Regions from separate parts of the Homo sapiens genome. Here region 2 is linked to region 1. The links are contacts of gene promoters, found by promoter capture Hi-C in human tissues and cell types (Jung and others, 2019). All regions are on one chromosome and are shown on one strand. Each heading gives the region's core, a stretch centred on a gene start or on the middle of the fragment in contact. The rest is flanking DNA. Distances are from core to core; before and after follow the strand shown.

Region 1 (5,413 bases), core at 2,585-5,084:
AAAGAGCACAGTAATCACCAGTCCTTTGTAGTTAAATTTTAATGAAGACACAGGGTTTCTTACACTGTGTTCTTCCTAAGTTTCAAAATGCAGCGTCAGGAATGTATTTAGAGTGACATCCAGACATAGTATAACTTACAGTACACTAACTTTGGGAAGTGATATTCCTGCCAAGAAATGTATTAAGCTAAATCCAATCCTAAGGGAAGGCCAGACAAACCCAAATTGAAAGTCTATAAAATAACTTGCCAATAACATTCAAACTGTTAAGATCATGAAAGTCAAGGAAAGACTGAGGAACTGTTTCAGAATGGAGACTACGTGACATGGCAACTAAATGCAACACATAAATCTGAGGATTAGATAGCATAAATGCATCAGCATTAGTTTCCTAAGTTTAGTATTTGCATTGTAAAGACTTTGTAGGAAGTACACACTCACTGGTGTTGGGGTATAATGTTGGCAGCTTACTCTCAACTAGTTCAGAAAAAATTCCTTTGTACCATACCTGCAATTTTTCTGAGCTAGAAATTGTTGCAAAAAAAATAAAAACTTTAAAAAAAAAAGAGGATTTACTCATAAGCTAGATTTAGTTTCTCCCATCCCAAATTCTAGTTAACTAATGGAAGAAAACACCAACTCATAGGTACGAAATTTCAATTAATGCTTCCAAGGCTTAGAACAAGCTACTTTCTGGCCAAAAACTGCCACTTAGACTTTGGCACTACAGGCTTTTTTATGTTACACAATCAAGTAGGACCAGTGTAGAGACTTTTCTCACATAGGACCACATAAAACTTCATTCACATTTCTCTTAATTTGATAACCTTCTAATCTGCTTTGTGCTATGGTTATTTGTACACATGTACAAAAAATTGGTTGCTACACTCTAAATTCTATATTGAGGGTAGAAATGCATTCTGTTCATTTCCTTTACAACATTTAGGAAAAGCCATGTGCCACGTACTGTACTAGGGAGTAGAAAACAAAGACACTCTCTTCGATCTTAATTACCATCAAGTAAAGCCATGAAACCACATACAAGATACTAAATTGTTAAACGGGAGAAAATAGAGTGGGAGAATGCTTCTGTCTCTAAAAAGGGAAAAACAAAAATATCTCAAAACACAGTTCTTGAAAAGAACAGTCTCCTGGATCCTCACTGACAACTAGTTCAGAAAGACTTTTAGTATTTCTCTTTGTGCAATTTAAAAGGTTAAACTAATAAATCCTTATATCAAATAAAACTAAGCTATAAACAATGCTAGCAATTATAGCAAATAGGCAGATGTACTGTTCTTCAACAGCTAAGCCTGTGAGAAACACATGTTTTCAACTTGAGTAACCCTAACAGTAGCATCAGGCCTAGGAAGACGTCTGGACCTAGAAGTCTCCACATTCAGCCCCATCTGCCACAATCTCGAACTGCAGACTGATGAAGGCAGAGAGAGAAACTGACACAAACGCAAAGGCCTCAGAGTTTATAAAAATCTTAGTTTAAATACAGAAATAAAGAGAAAAAGCTTCTATATTAAATATCTCAATTTAAGTTCAGAATAAAGTCCCTACATATGCCATGATGCTTCACCCCATACTTCAGCCAACTCAGGATGGCTAAAGAATGTAAGTGGAATCAGAAAGAAAAACTGGAATTACCTATGTTAAAATAAGGTATATGACTATTTCTTGTTTTTGTTTGGGAGATAGTAGTGCCTGACAAATATTTTGCAAACCTTAAAGTGGAATTCTCTACATAGGCACAATCACTCCAGCACAAGTCAGGAGGACACTGTTCTTACACATGCTTTTAATTTGTTCTTCTGTGTCTCCTCTTCCTCACTAGTAAGAATGAAACAAAAACATTGTATCCACTTAATGTAAAGTGGAGCCAGCTCTTGGAGCCGGCTATTTTCTTCCTGTGATACTTGTCTACGTTACCTGGAATTTTAGAAAGAATTTATTAACTGCAGGTTCTTTCCTATAATTAGGATAAAAGCATACAAATATCTTAAGGCTTTTGGATCATCAAGCTGTTCAATAGAGAAAACGACTAAAACCTAGCCCTCAATTCCTAATCCTGACATTTCCCGGTTGAGGAGTTTGCAAAATAGACTTCTTACCAATATTCATAAAGTTACTATTAACATAGTAATATTAAATGGTCTCAGAATTTCACATATAAGTAAGTCTTCCAGTAGTTAGACAATTGGTGGGGAGCTAAAAATTGAAAAACTTCTTAGAGGAAAAAAATACAACATACAACGCTGACAGATTGTAACGAGTTTTTTCCTTAGAACCAGATTGTTGTTAAGAAATATTCTTTGAGCTATTTGGTAATCATGAGCTCATCTTCCCACACAAAAATATCACGCTGGGTGAAGTGGCTCACGCCTGTAATACCACCACTTTGGGAGGCGGGGGAGTCCCTTGAGGCCAGGAGTTCAAGACAAGCCTGGGCAACTTAATGGGACCCCCATCTCTACAAAAAAATTAAATTAGCCAAGTATGGTGGCTCGATCCCGCACTGCTAGCCACCTGGGAGACTGATGCAGGAGGATCGCTTGTGCCCAGGAATTGGAGGCTGCAGTGATCCCGCCACTGTATGCGGCCTGGACAATACAGCCAAACCCTGTCTCTAAAAGACAAAAGTCACTAAACACATAACGTTCACAGCAGCACCTCTTAGGAGTCGCAATGGTCTGCATAGTTGCTATTTATCCCTGTTTAGTGCAATTTGTATGTCATCTTTTCAGTTCCCCATTAGTAATAATTTTTTAAAAAGTCATCTTAGGGAAGACTTCCCTGTCACTTTTTCTCTTCGGTGCTCCTTCAACACATAAAATGCTAATTACTATTATATAGTAAATATCAAAACGAACTTTTCTATTTATTCGTCTAAATAGACAGTACTTATACTGTTTCCTAGCACCAGGCACAATGCCTTGTCAATTAACTCCTTGCACGTAGCGAAGTACTCTACAGTTAAAGACAACAAGATTATATCCTGGAAACATGCCAGGCCTTAAGAAATTATTTTTCTCAGACGTGTTTGGAGTGATAACACTGCCAAGTAACGGAGGTATAATAAGTGATTCTCAAGATAATTAATCCTACGCAGCTACAAACGCTGTAAGGTAAAAACAATCATTTTTACAGTTATCATTTTTATTCTTACTAGTTTTGTAACTTTTAACTTACTAGTGTTATATTATTATAACACGACGTAAAGGAATAGTGCGTAAAGGAACTGCTATGTACCAATGAGACCTGAGCAGGGCACACAAGACTGAAAGAAAAACAACCCCACGCAAAATCTAAGTCTTGCAGTTTTCACTCCTCGCGTCTCCAGTGTCCACGCATCCGCAGTCCTGTTTTTGTATTTCGCCCAAGATACACCCCTGGGCAACCTCAGGGTGCGAGGAACCCAGCTCTGCCTCCTGCTCCCCGCGGCTCCTGTACTACCCAAGGCTCGCGATCTTCCATGACCCCTCGAAGTTGCCTCCCTTTCCCGGGCAAAGAAGGGGCAGCGACCCCGCCTCGCCCGCCGGACCGAGCCAGGTCCAGCCTGGCTCCCCCCTGGGGCCGTGCTTCCCCCGCCCCCAACGGTCCTCAGGCCTGGGTCTCACCTCTCCACCCACTCCCTCAGGAAGCGCATTTCCTCGGTGTGCAGAACGCTCGGATCCTGCTTACACATTTTCACAAAGGCCCGAAGCTCGTTCACTTTGCGGGGGTCCATGGTAGGGAGGTGGTGGGCGAAACTGGGGGGGCTACGGCCCGGTTCCAGGCCCAGGCGCTGGCTCGGCGTGACCGCGCAGAAGGGGGCGGCTGCCGCAAGACAGAACAGACTAGAACCTCCCCGGCCGCTGGCTCCTCCCACCCAACGGTCTCGTGACCTCGGGTCCTCCGCCTGCTCATTCCTACTCCCTCTGCGCTGCTCCTGCGCGCTCCCTAGAATCTTCTAGAAGCGTGGCTGTTCGTGCTGTTGCCTGCCTCCCTGCGCATACATTCTCATATTCTTAACTAGGAACCAGCTCCCTGGATGGGGCAACCCCAGAAATGGGCGACTTCAAGGAGGCGGGAGATAACATCCCCTCCAGGGGGCGACGTCCAAGAGCATATTGTGTGGCTGCGTGCACTGAGTAGAGCTCAACGCCCGGGACCTAAAAAAAAAAAAAAAAAAGGGCGTGGAGCCGGAGGGTCGGTCCCAGCTCGGGGCATGACGTCACAACCTGCGCCGCCGCGCAAGGAAGGCCCGCGAGCCGCCTCCGCCGGAAGGGGAGGTGCGGCTGGCCCGGTTTCCTGGCGACGCGGCCCTGCAGGCGGTTGCGTTCCCCGTCGTTACCCTCTTTCTCTTCCCGACGCGTGAGTTAGGCCGTAATGCCTTGGCTGCTCTCAGCCCCCAAGCTGGTTCCCGCTGTAGCAAACGTCCGCGGCCTCTCAGGTTAGACTCTTCTCCCACGGTCTCCTCCCATGGTGTCCCCTGGAGGGACCCAAGTTGGTCTCAGGCGATCCCTGGTTCGGCTGACCCTTCTCCTGGTGGGGCCTCCGCTCCCCAACCCTCTGTGCTCCGCGGATTTCTTCTATACCGGCTGCTCCTGGAAAGGGGTGGGCCCAGTGTGTTCTCTACCGTTGAGGTATTTTGTGAAGCCGAAATGACTGCAGAGAGAAAAGTGTGCCATCCCCCAGAGGGGCTGTCTTCCAAGTTACTCGGACTCCGAAGTTGTGGCAATTATCACACTTAAGTGACAAAGTGTCTCACATCAAGTAGCTCTTGTTTCTGTTAGGCGTGAGAGCTTGCTCCAGAATATACACGAAGCATGTTTAGTAACAAATTCTTTCAGCAGCTCCTCTTAGGAGAGGTAACTGTTTCGAAATACTTCTGGGGCGTTCTGTGTCTGAAAGTCCTGTTTGCAAAGACAAGACGAAGGATAAGGAGAATAATTTTTTGTAGGGTGTCCTCTATTGCGAGCAATTAATCTGATGAACATAAAGCTTAATCAGTGAAAACTGAATCACCTTCCTTGCAGGCGGATCTGCCATTGGATCGTATTTCAGTTTTTTGGGTCAATATATGAACAATGTGTGAACCAGAACGTATGGTATTTGACATCAAAGCTATGTCTTGGCATATGTTTATGTTGATATACTTGAATTCATTTAAAATGGAATGTTAATTACATCGACTTCTTACTATAAAAAATAAAAAGTTATTGTCCAGTGCACAGAACTTGTTCTTCAGTTCTCATAGTAAAGCTGCAGAAAGACAACTCTCCGTGGGATTAGGTGAAAAGAAAGATGTGCAATTTTTCAGTCTTTTTTTGAGACAGGCTCTCATTCTGTTGCTCAGACTGGAGTGCAGTGGCAATCTCTGCTCATTTGCAACCTCTGCCTCCTGAGTTCAAGCAATTCTCGT
Region 2 (4,969 bases), core at 1,319-3,818, 730 kb after region 1:
AAAAAAAAAGAAAAAAAAATTAGCTGGGCGTGGTGGCAAGCGCCTGTAATCCCAGCTACTCAGGAGGCTGAGGCAGGAGAATCCCTTGAACCCGGGAGGTGGAGGTTGCAGTGAACCGAGATCATGCCATCGCACTCCAGCCTGGGGGACAAGAATGAGATTTCATCTCCAAAAAAAAAAAAAAAAAAAGATATTAGCCAGGCATGGTGGCACTTGCCTGTAGTCCCAGCTACCAGCTACTCCAGAAGCTGAGGCGGGAGAATCACTTGAGCCCAGGAGTTCGAGGCTGCAGTGAGCTGTGATAGCGCCACTGCACTCCAGACTGAGTGACAGAGTGAGACCCCGGTCTCTAACAACAACAACAACAAAATAGCATCACAATCAAGTTGATTTTTGAGGAGCCAAAGAACAATAACAAAAATAGCCTCACAAAACAATGCTTAATATTTGCTCTGGGCAAATAGATCCAGATAAAGGCCTGGAGGGAAGCCACACCACAGTAACCACATTAACTTGGGGAGCCGGCCAGGCTCCCCAAGTGCGGTCAGAGTGGACTTTACCCTTCTCTGTTACGTTTCCATTCTTTACCAGGAGAGTGTGCTCATGAAAATGTGTACGATTAAAAATTAACTTTCAAAAGGCACTAAGCACAGAGGCTGGCCCGTAGACAAATTAATAGGCTGTTCTTATTCAGGTTGTTATGTTTGTGGAGCAAAAGGTCAGAGGGAGGAGTCAGAACTGTGCCTAGGCCCTGCCACTTTTGTTCCAGTTCTTTTATTCATTTATTTGTTTGTTTGAGACGGAGTTTCACTCTTGTTGCCCAGGCTGGAGTGCAATGGCACAATCTTGGCTCACTGCAACCTCCACCTCCTGGGTTCAATCGATTCTCCTGCCTCTGCCTCCCCAGTAGCTGGGACTACAGGCACACGACACCACGCCCATCTACTTTTTGTTTTGTTTTGTTTTGAGACTGAGTCTCCCTCTGTCGCCCAGGCTGTAGTGCAATGGCACATTCTCGGCTCACTGCAACTTCTGCCTCTCGGGTTCAAGTGATTCTCCTGCCTCAGCCTCCCGACTAGCTAGGATTACAGGTGCATGCCACCACGCCTGGCTAATTTTTTGTATTTTTAGTAGAGATAGGGTTTCACGATATTGGTCAGGCTGGTCTTAAACTCCTGACATCGTGATCTGTCTGCCTCGGCCTCCCAAAGTGCTGGGATTACAGGCGTGAGCCACTGAACCCAGCCTAATTTTTGTATTTTTAGTAGAGACGGGGTTTCACCATGTTAGCCAGACTGATCTAGAATTCCTGACCTCAGGTGATCTGCCCACCATGGCCTCCCAAAGTGCTGGGATTACAGGCGTGACCCACAAGCAAATGGCCCACCTTTGCTCCAGTCCTGCTATCTTCCTCCCGGATCCACCCCTGCAGGAAGGCCTCCAGGGCCCAAGCCAGGGCAACTTCACCACAGAGGATGGGGAGGGGCATTCGGGACCTAAGAGAGGAGGCTAAGACCTGGGTTCCCATCAGCCACTGCCCAGTAAAGCCCATCCCACTGCTCCCCCACGCTAGGAGACCTGTTGGTTGGTCCTTGAGGCCCCCAGACTGGAGGGTGGGTTACCCACAGGGAGGGCATGAATGAAGCCTGCTTACTGATGCATCCAGCTGGTGAGGGGGCTTTTGGGGACTCACTCACAATGAGACCCAATGGGAGAAAAACTGAGCAGAGGTAAGAGGCTCAACACAGCGAGAGTCTTTAGAAGAAAACTAGACTCTTACCCTCACTATTCCTCAGTGTCCTCACAGCAAACAGGCTAGGCCTGGAGCCTCTCACATCCGGGTGGGTAGAGCTCATAAACGAATTTGAAAAGAAGCCCTCTCTGCTCCACGACTGGGGGTGGAAGGTAAAGTGGGTGATGGGGCTTCAGAAACTAGACCCAGTCCCAGGCCTGCAAAGGTCGGGGTGGGAAGACTCCGAGACGCCCTGTCTCCCACCAGATGATGACTGACGCTTGGCTGTGTGCTTGTGTGCCTGGAACCCCGGTTCAGAAGCCAGCTCCGACCACTGGTGTGTCGTAGGGCTGAACTAGGGTGGGATCCCCAGCTCAGGAGGCGGGGGCGTCCGTGAGCCAGGCCTTAGCGGCGTGTGACAGCCTCCGGGGAGGGAGGGAGCTAGGCCCCTGCTCGCAGCCTCCTCCCTCCAGTACTGGATCCAACCCCAGCACTCCCAAGCAGAACACAGGCAAGGACGCTGCGGGGTCAGTGACGTGAGGGCCAGGTCCCCTCACTCCCGGTGGGTGGCCCCGGATGTCAGGGGGCCGGGTACCGCCGCATCCCACACTCGGTCCCCGGGTGTCCACGGTCACGCTGCTGCAGACCCCACACTCAGCCTCGGGGGTGTCCGCGTGACACTCCCGGTGGGAGCTTCCAATCTTCAGGGTCCTACCTGGCGAGCCGGCGTGAGGGTCCCGTCCACGTCAAACAGGCAGAGGACGCGCTCCTTCCTGCGGGCTGCCTGGGCGGTGACTGCCATGGCTGCAGGTCCGCGCGCGGGGCGGAGTCCCGAAGATGCAACGGCAGAAGCAGCTCAGGGATAAGTGCTGACGGGGCGGGGCATTAGGGGGCGGGGGCCAGTGGACTGCCTGATTGGCCAAATGAAGAAGGGGCGTGGTCTAGGCGGGCGGAAGCGGGGGCGGGGCCTGAGCTGATTCTCATTGCTCGTGGAGGAGGGGAGCGCGGCATAGGGCGGAGCGGAGCCCTCCAGGTTCGATTGGATTGCTCCAAACAAGGCGGAGGAGGGGCCTGAGCCTGGGACCCGCAGGAAGTGAGAGGGTGAACCCGGAAGACAGGGGCGGGGCCAGAATTGGCGGGTTGATAGTGATTGCAACAGGCCGATTAAGGGGCTGGGTCGGGCGGGGCCTCTACCATGCAGTGCAGTGTCTAGTGGGCCAGGCGGGACTAAGAGAGCCGAGGTCGCTCCCCATCCACTCTCACAAGGTTTGTGGCCATCTCTTTGCCTTACAAATTTTGAGCTGTAGGAAATCTCCTGAGCCGGGCGCGGTGGTTCACGCCTGTAATCCCAGCAGTTTGGGACGTCGAGGCGGGCGGATCACCGGAGGTCGGGAGTTCGAGACCAGCCTGACCAACATGGAGAAACCTCGTCTCTACTAAAAATACAAAATTAGCCAGGCGTGGTGGCGCATGCCTGTAATCTCAGCTACTCAGGAGGCTGAGGCAGGAGAATCGCTTGATTCCAAAGAAGCCAGAGGTTGCGGTGAGCCGAGATCGCGCCATTGCACTCCAGCCTCAAAAAAAAAAAAAAAAAAAAAAAAGGAAAGAAAAGAAAAGAAAAGAAATCTCCTGAAGGCCTTTGTTCAGGCTTTGGACTTTGCCAAATTGCCTTCCCCGAGCCTTATTCCTTCTGTCCACACATAAGACCCAGCTCTCAGGGTCTACCTGCTTGGAGACCTTCCCAGATTCTTCTTTTTTTTTTTTTTTTTTGAGACAGAGTCTCGCTCTGCCCAGGCTGGAGTGCAGTGGCGGGATCTCTGCCCACTGCAACCTCCACCTCCCAGGTTCAAGCGGTTCTCATGCCTCAGCCTCCCGAGTAGCTGGGACTGCAGGCGTGTGCCACCATGCCCACCTAATTTTTGTATTTTTACTTACTTTTATGTTTATTTTATTTTATTTTTGACACAGGGCGATTTATTTATTTATTTATTTATTTTTTGAGACTGGGTCTCACTCTGTTACTCAGGTTGGAGTGCAGTGGCATGATCTCGGCTCACTGCAACCTCCGCCTCCCAGGTTCAAGTGATTCTCCTGCCTCAGCCTCCTGAGTAGCTGAAACTACAGAAGTGCGCCACCACGCCCGGCTAATTTTTTTTTTTTTTCTGAGACGGAGTTTTGCTCTTGTTGCCCAGGCTGGAGTGCAATGGCACGATTTCAGCTCACCACAACCTCTGCCTCCCGAGTAGCTGGGATTATTTTGTACCCACTACCACGCTCGGCTAATTTTTTATTTTTAGTAGTAATTTTGTATTTTCACCATGTTAGCCAGGCTGGTCTCGAACTCCTGGCCTCAGGTGATCTGCCTGCCTCAGCCTCCCAAAGTGCTGGGAATACAGGCATGAGCCACCGTTCCCAGCCAACCTTCCCAGATTCGATTCACAATTATTTAACCATTGCGTTGACTTTGGAGTCACTTCCAGGTTGCCTTCCCAGCTCCACCACTATGGGACCTTGGACAAGTCACTTCACCTCTCAGAGGCTTTGTGTCTTCACCTATAAAATGGGATGAACACCACCTGCTTTGTAGGTTTGCTTTTCACATGAAAATAAGTAACAGGCTGGGCGCGGTGGCTCACGCCTGTAATCCCAACACTTTGGGAGGCCGGGATGGGCAGATCACCTGAGGTCATGAGTTTGAGACCAGCCTGGCCAACATGGGGAAAGTCCGTCTCTACTAAAAATACAAAAATTAGCCGGGCATGGTGGCAGGAGCCTGTAATCCCAGCTACTTGGGAGGCTGAGGCGGAAGAATCACTTGAACCTGGAAGGCGGTGGTTGCAGTGAGCCGAGATGATGCCACTGCGCTCCAGCCTGGGAGACAGAGGGAGACTACACCTCAAACAAACAAACTAACTAACTAACTAACTAACTAAATAAATAAAAAATAACTGTAGAGCTGGATGCGGTGGCTCACACCTGTAATTCCAGCACTTTGGGAGGCCAAGGTGGGTGGATTGTTTGAACCCAGGAGGTCAAGATCAGCCTGGGCAACATGGCAAAATGCTGTCTCTACTAAAAATACAAAACATTAGCCAGGCATGGTGGCAGGCACCTGTGGTCCCTCAGGAGGCTAAAGTAGGAGAATCACCAGGAAGCTGAGGCTGCAACGAACCAGATCTTCCCACTGCACTCCAGCCTGGGTAACAGTAGTGAGACCCTGTCTCAAGAAAAAAAAAA

Evidence for each region. The method cuts DNA at HindIII sites, captures the fragments that hold promoters and counts their contacts. A contact is called where the count stands out against the background at its distance.
Region 2: the fragment with the promoter of PMM1 here is called in contact with the fragment with the promoter of ST13 in region 1 in 1 of the 25 tissues and cell types used here (liver).

What each region holds. Positions count from the first base shown.
Region 1 is chr22:40,852,805-40,858,217 of GRCh38, forward strand. ST13 (ST13 Hsp70 interacting protein) reads right to left here and starts at 3,835. Exons shown (of 12, transcript NM_003932.5): 1 at 3,627-3,835. The coding sequence starts at 3,736. XPNPEP3 (X-prolyl aminopeptidase 3) reads left to right here and starts at 4,344. Exons shown (of 10, transcript NM_022098.4): 1 at 4,344-4,441. The coding sequence starts at 4,378. RefSeq lists enhancers at 3,563-4,332, 3,960-4,179, 4,190-4,649. The HindIII fragment of the contact is 7,743 bases long and covers 1-5,354 here.
Region 2 is chr22:41,587,272-41,592,240 of GRCh38, forward strand. It overlaps PMM1 (phosphomannomutase 1), which reads right to left and starts at 2,569. Exons shown (of 8, transcript NM_002676.3): 1 at 2,448-2,569. The coding sequence starts at 2,534. RefSeq lists an enhancer at 1,694-2,373 and a silencer at 2,768-2,917. The HindIII fragment of the contact is 27,075 bases long and covers 1-4,969 here.